Regions from separate parts of the Homo sapiens genome. Here region 2 is linked to region 1. Evidence: promoter capture Hi-C in 16 types of primary human blood cells and fetal thymus (Javierre and others, 2016). All regions are on one chromosome and are shown on one strand. Each heading gives the region's core, a stretch centred on a gene start or on the middle of the fragment in contact. The rest is flanking DNA. Distances are from core to core; before and after follow the strand shown.

Region 1 (3,406 bases), core at 623-3,122:
AGTGTCCCTCAGCCGGAGATGGAGAGAAGTTGCTTCCTTCCCTATCAGTAGTTGATTCTGAGGTATGCTGCACAGAATACAACTTGTCCAAAGCTCCAGGGATATAGTTGCTCACGGTAGTAATCTTTAACACATTCTTTACTAGTTTCCTCCCTTCCCTATCTTACTTCCTTACTATGCTTCCTGAGATCACTTTTTTTTTTTTTTTTTTTTGAGGAAGGGTCTCACTCTCTCGCCCAGATTGGAATGCAGTGGTCCAATCTTGGCTCAACACAACCTCCACCTCCCAGCCTCAAGGGATTCTTCCACCTCAGCCTCCCAAGTAGCTGGGATTACAGGCGCCCGCCACCATGCCTGGCTAATTTTTCTATTTTTAGTAGAGACGGGGTTTCATCACATTGGCCAGGCTGGTCTCGAACTCCTGACCTCAAATGATCCACCCTCCTCGGCCTCCCAAAGTGCTGGGATTAAGGGAGTGAGCCACTCACCGTGCCCGGCCGAGATCACCTTTAAATAAACTATTGGCACTCAAAGCTCTGTCTCAGGGTCTATTTTGGAGGCACCAAGAACCAAAACATCACTCCATTGCTAAATTCATTTTAAAATGACAATCTTGGATCCCTGGAGAGGCAAACTCAAAACCTGTTTGGGTGGTGCTTGCAACCCAGCCAACAGGAGCTGCTCTTAGCTCTGATTTTTGCTTGAACAATGCTATAGTGAGGTTGTGTTGATTTAGGATGCCCTGCTCAGCCTATATTAATAATAATAGTAATAAGAGCTACTGTTTACCAAGAGCTTACTGTGCGGCAGATTCACATGCTTCATTTCATTTAATCCTCACAGTGACTCCGTAGGGAGGGTACTATTACTATTTCCATTGTATTGATGAAGATCCTGAGGCTCATGGAGGTTAAATAACTTTTCAAAGTTACATAGCTAGTAAGAGGCAGATTGCTGGTGTGCTTCAGCAGTGTGTTAAAATGTGTAGATAACTATAAATATTCTTCTGTTATATTTTTGTGTAAATGGGAACAATAGTACTTGGCAGATAAAATTTGCATCGTTAACAATACCATAAACATAGTGTAATGCAAGGATCTCCCAATCAGGTGAGAGCCTCAAGAGGATAAAACTGTTCCCTAGGCCAAGGTGGGCAGATTGCTTAAGGCCGGGAGTTAGAGACCAGCCTAGGAAACATGGCGAAATTTCATCTCTACCAAAAATATATATATTAACAAAGTTTAGCTGGGCATGGTGACTCACGCCAGTAGTCCTAGCTCCTTGGGAGGCTGGGAGCAGAGGTTCAGTCAGCCACAATTGTGCCATTGCATTCCAATCTGGGTGACAGAGTGAAACCCTGCCTCAAAAAACAAAACAAACAACAACAACAAAAAAACGGCTCCCTGCCATGCCTGGCTTGGTACAGCTTATGCACTGGGCTTGGGTTACTAGTGGTAACTAAGACTTTTCCAGCATTATTTAAGTTGTGTAGAATCTTCCAATGTTTTGACCTCTGTTAAAGTCAAACTTCTCTTTGGACTCGTCCCTTCACAATCCCCAGGCTAGATGATCAAAACGCAGCCATCTTACTTAAATATGACAATATTCAGTGAGATGCGCTACAGATTTTTGCACAAGTTCAAGCTTTCTTGGAACAACACATCCCTGTTAGTAATATCCGGCCCCACCTAGTAACCGAGGTAGACATAGAAACTTAGATCTTAAGAAGATGTCTTTCCCAATTACTATCTTCTCTAAGACTCCATAAAGAAAAACAGACTTTGAACCCAAGTTATCTTATTTATTTGACCCTGCTGTCATAAAGCGTTCAAATTCAAGTATTATAAAGGATTGTAACAGGGAAAGCATTTAGGGTTTTCAGGCAGAGGAACAGTTGGCCAAGGAAGTCAGCTTCTCAGAGCTCAAGAGGTAAGTGGTAAGACTGTCTTATATAGAAAGTAGAGAGTCATACAGATTAAAAACAAGCCAAGTGAGGGGAATACATTTTGAAAAGTTGCTGTCTCGGTGGAGTGGAGGGAAAGAGAAGACATAGATTTGTCCCCTTAATAGGGCTGGGTGAGGTCTGGCAAGAAGCCTGCACTCTCAGTTTTTATTGAGTACTTGTAGTGCAGAGCGCTTGAGAAAACTCTACTATTGACCACATTCTGCAGTAATCACTGTTACAACACTGTGATAGAAATCTTTTTGGCAAATATTTAAAATTACAAAAGAATCAATATTAGTAGTAATTGCATCTTACGAAAAGATTGATGCAGGCTTGTCTGCCAGAAAGGGTGAGCCTGGCATGAATGAAACTTACTCCTGTCAGGGCACGCCTGGGACAGGGGAGGAGTAGAGTAGGTATAGGTATATTTCAGCTCTTGTAAATTAATACTGGTGTTAAGGGGAGAGAACTCCCAGTGGCCAGGGACTGGAAAAGATTAACAGCAGCTTTTTTTTATTTTTTTATTTTTTATTTTTATTTTTTGAGACCGAGCCTCACTCTGTCGCCCAGGCTGGAGTGCAGTGGCATAATCTTGGCTCACTGCAACCTCCACCTCCCAGGTTCAAGCAATTCTCCTGCCTCAGCCTCCCGAGTAGCTGGGATTACAGGCGCTCGCCACCATGCCTGGCTAATTTTTTTTTTTTTTTTTTGCATTTTTAGTAGAGATGGGGTTTCACTATGTTGGTCAGGCTAGTCTCAAACTCCTGACCTCAGGTAATCCACCTGCCTCAGCTCCTAAAGTGCTGGGATTACAGGCATGAGCCACTGCACCCAGCCTAACAGCAGCTTCTTAAAGGAAAAGAATATTAATCTAGGCAGTAGATTGGGTAGTAGGGTGGTTGAGAGTAGGGTGGTTAAGAGCATGGTCTTGGGAGTCTGGGTTCAAATCCCGACCTTGACATTTACTGTCTGTGGGATCTCAGGCAAATTACATAGTCTCTTTAAATCTATAGAAACGACCTCAGGAGGGTTGTTAGGAGGCTTAATTGTGACTGAAATGATGTATGTAAAGTGTTTAGCACAGTCCCTGTTGCGCAGAAAGTTTTCCGTATGTGGTTCGCTATATTTATAGTAGTACTCTTGAAAGGAAGTAATGAATATATGTTTTTTTCCCAGATGGAAATGGAGAATATCTTAGGGAGAGGGAGAGTTGAAGCAAAAGCAAGAAGGGAGAAAGGACACCTTTATTATTTATTATTTTTAGTCCATTGGGTCAAGGGGAAGAGAGAGAGAGAATAGTGGGAGAAAGACAAGATTAACATGGTTTAAACTAGAGGCCATGTTTCAATTGAGGCTTTTCTACGTACACACCATTTGAATCTATGGGATTTGGAGTAGTCTCAAAAACTCTCTATTATCAGAGAACATCTTTACAAAAATGACCCAAGAAAAACTTTCAGA
Region 2 (3,406 bases), core at 640-3,139, 140 kb after region 1:
GCCCCACCAAACACCTCGGTGATCTCTTCTCTCTCTGAGCTATGGTGATAGCTCCACTTAAGACAAGTTCTAATAGTTGAGCATCGTACCATGCACCTGTAGGTCCAGCTACTTGGGAGGCTGAGGCAGGAGGATCCCTTGAGCCCAGGGGTTCAAGACTGCAGTGAGGCATGATTGTGCCACTGCACTCCAGCCTGGGCAACAGAGCAAGACCCTGACTCTTAAAAAAAAAAAAAAAGGACTCGTTATAGTGATCTCTGTCTAGTTCTCAACTAACAAGCCATAATTCTGTTTAATCAGGTATAGTTCACATGTTAGTCTGTGGGAATGCATGGTTTCTGACAAGTTGCTTTCCGTGACTCGGCATGCTCTGGTAGCTGATGACTCCTTTTTAAACGGATGACTCCTTTTTAAACTCCCTGCAATGACTCCTTTTTAAACGGATTTCTAGTGTGAAAGTTCAGTACACAGATACTAAGGTCATGAGGAGCACAAAATGTGCAATTTTGTGCATTTTGCCCTATAGTGCATTTCATTAACTGTAGGACTGGAACTTTTTGAATTATAGAGGCCCTATTTCTTAAAGAACAAACTCCCAGAATGAGAAAATAGAAAAGCTTGAAGGCAACTCCAGACATTTTCAGTCCAAAATAAAAATGACAGGGGCAGAACTTCACCTAAAGATCAGTAAATCAAAGGATGCTTTCAGATCCAAATTGTCTGCTTATGATACATACAGACTTTTGGCCAACAAAGATTTTATTAAGCAACTTAATAAAGATTTTTCAAAGCCTCTGCAGTGTGGCTGTTTTTTTTTTTTTCTCCTCTATATCCCTGAGCTGCTTTTTGCCACTCTGATGCTGAGTTTTACAAGGCCAGTTGTATATTTCACACCTAAGCCCAAGTATATTTCAGATCCATCTTAAAGCTTCTGTGTACCTCAGCTGTTTCTATAGTAGACCTTCTCAGCCACTTCTCTGTGATGAGTACTACATCAACACAATGTTGCATTAGAAGTGATGATTTCAATAATCGCATCTTTTACAGTTTAACTATGTGATAATTTATACTCTCATATGAACTAACCAGTATTGCTTTACAGGTGAATTCATTAAATTAGTAACATCCTGGCTGTTACAGTGGCTGATAGCACTGGGCAGTATGGCTGCAGTGTGTCTGCAGGAGACAAGGAGCCTGGGTGAGGGGATGGGGGCCAAAACCCAGCAATTACTCTGCTCCCCAAGCCCTTTGTGGCCGCAGAAGTCTCCTCTGTCCAGAGAAAAGGGTACCCTTTCCCAAGTCCTTCAAAAGCATGTTATTGGCCAGCAGAGATTCTGTTGAAGGCTCATCATTTTCTTCCATTAGTGTTATAATGATTTTCTTAGTTTACAGATGTGTATAGTTTCTGAATATACCATTTTAATTCATATTTGAGAATACATAAATTGGGAATTCTTTTCCTAAGGAATGTCAGTGAGACTATTCCAACTCGCTCTTAGATGTTATTAAAGTGTTATTTAAGCTTTGTTTTAATATTAATGTTGACTATTTTTGCAAGTTTTAAAAATTACAAGGATGTTTATAACATTGTATTTTCTTCCCAATAGCGTATTATTAAAAGTATTACCCCAGAAACACCAACAGAAATTCCTTGTGGGGACATCCGCTTGAATGCTGTGTAACACACTCACCGAGAGGAAAAAGGCTTCTCCACAACCTCCTCCTCCAGTTCTGATGAGGCACGCCTGCCTTCTCCCCTCCAAGTGAATGAGTTTCCAGCTAAGCCTGATGATGGAAGGGCCTTCTCCACAGGGACACAGTCTGGTGCCCAGACTCAAGGCCTCCAGCCACTTATTTCCATGGATTCCCCTGGACATATTCCCATGGTAGACTGTGACACAGCTGAGCTGGCCTATTTTGGACGTGTGAGGATGTGGATGGAGGTGATGAAAACCACCCTATCATCAGTTAGGATTAGGTTTAGAATCAAGTCTGTGAAAGTCTCCTGTATCATTTCTTGGTATGATCATTGGTATCTGATATCTGTTTGCTTCTAAAGGTTTCACTGTTCATGAATACGTAAACTGCGTAGGAGAGAACAGGGATGCTATCTCGCTAGCCATATATTTTCTGAGTAGCATATATAATTTTATTGCTGGAATCTACTAGAACCTTCTAATCCATGTGCTGCTGTGGCATCAGGAAAGGAAGATGTAAGAAGCTAAAATGAAAAATAGTGTGTCCATGCAAGCTTGTGAGTCTGTGTATATTGTTGTTTCAGTGTATTCTTATCTCTAGTCCAATATTTTGGGCCCATTACAAATATATGAATTCCCCAAATTTTTCTTACATTAACAAATTCTACCAACTCAATTGTGTATGGAGGTTATTATTTGAAGGGTACAATCACTACAACATGCTCTGCCACCCACTCCTTTTCCAGTGACACTACTTGAGCCACACACTTTCCTTTACAGGCCAGCCTCTGGCGTTTGCTGCACCTCATTGCCACCTTCCTGTCTCTCTGTGCTAAACATTCAGGACAGTGTTCCACAGGCAGATCTGGCCTATTTCATTAGTCACCATGGCTTGGCTGTGAAGTACGTTGAAGGTGGATCTTGTCACATGCCCCTTCAGTGTTCACCTGGCCCTCTGGTTTAAGTTCTGTCTGCCTTACGTGACTGAGTTTGACTGTCCAGGTTGCTTTGCTCGGTGAAGAGAGGAGGGTAAATCGGATTCTCGTTTAGCACTGGGTTATACAGATCTGGCACCCTAACCTAAACCAAGGCATCTTCACTCCAAGAGCAGTTGGAGAGTCTGGGTTAGCCTTACGTGGACCTCGCCGCTCGCTGGCGGTCACGATTGTGAGCCCTCCAGATAATTTTTAAGGTTGAGTCTAAGTAAGGCTGCTTGGGAAATGGTCAGCTAAGTAAATCACCTTTCATTTCACATAAGGCCCTTAATATAGATAAGTAAATTTGGCCTTTGGTGTCTCGTGACTCTCAGAGGCGTAGGTAGAGGAGCAAATTAATATTTGCAGCATGGGAATTCCTTATCAGAATTTTGAGGGGAATAAATCCTCATCAGAGACAAAAGGACTTAATCATCTGGCCACCTATCACTTCAGTTCTCTGTATAAATGAAATTTAATTCTAACAACCTTATAAAAAGAAGGTCCAGACAGCAGAGGAAACATCCTGTCCAATTCTAGGTTTTCCTCCCTTGGCCTCCTTTCCCCAGCATTGTCTACCCTGGCCCACTTCCTGCATTCTCCCCATGCCCTGCTATTTCTGATTCTTTGCTTCTCCTAGCGAGATACTTTCCTTATATGATAGCTGCTGAGAAGTTTCCCAGAACTGCTAGAGGAAAAGAAGTGGGGAATTTAGGAAATATCCCTCACTGACCT

Evidence for each region. Contacts are between HindIII fragments. The CHiCAGO score rates a contact against its expected background, and 5 or more counts as called.
Region 2: a fragment that was not itself captured here is called in contact with the fragment with the promoter of TMIGD1 in region 1 in 2 of 17 cell types (M2 macrophages and M1 macrophages); the score reaches 7.4 in M2 macrophages.

The regions. Positions count from the first base shown.
Region 1 is chr17:30,332,523-30,335,928 of GRCh38, reverse strand. It overlaps TMIGD1 (transmembrane and immunoglobulin domain containing 1), which reads left to right and starts at 1,872. Exons shown (of 7, transcript NM_206832.3): 1 at 1,872-1,929. The HindIII fragment of the contact is 5,890 bases long and covers 1,647-3,406 here.
Region 2 is chr17:30,196,732-30,200,137 of GRCh38, reverse strand. It overlaps SLC6A4 (solute carrier family 6 member 4), which reads left to right. Exons shown (of 15, transcript NM_001045.6): 15 at 1,608-3,406. The coding sequence ends at 1,682. Among named protein-coding and RNA genes, the nearest start is that of SLC6A4, 37 kb to the left of the region's middle. The HindIII fragment of the contact is 729 bases long and covers 1,525-2,253 here.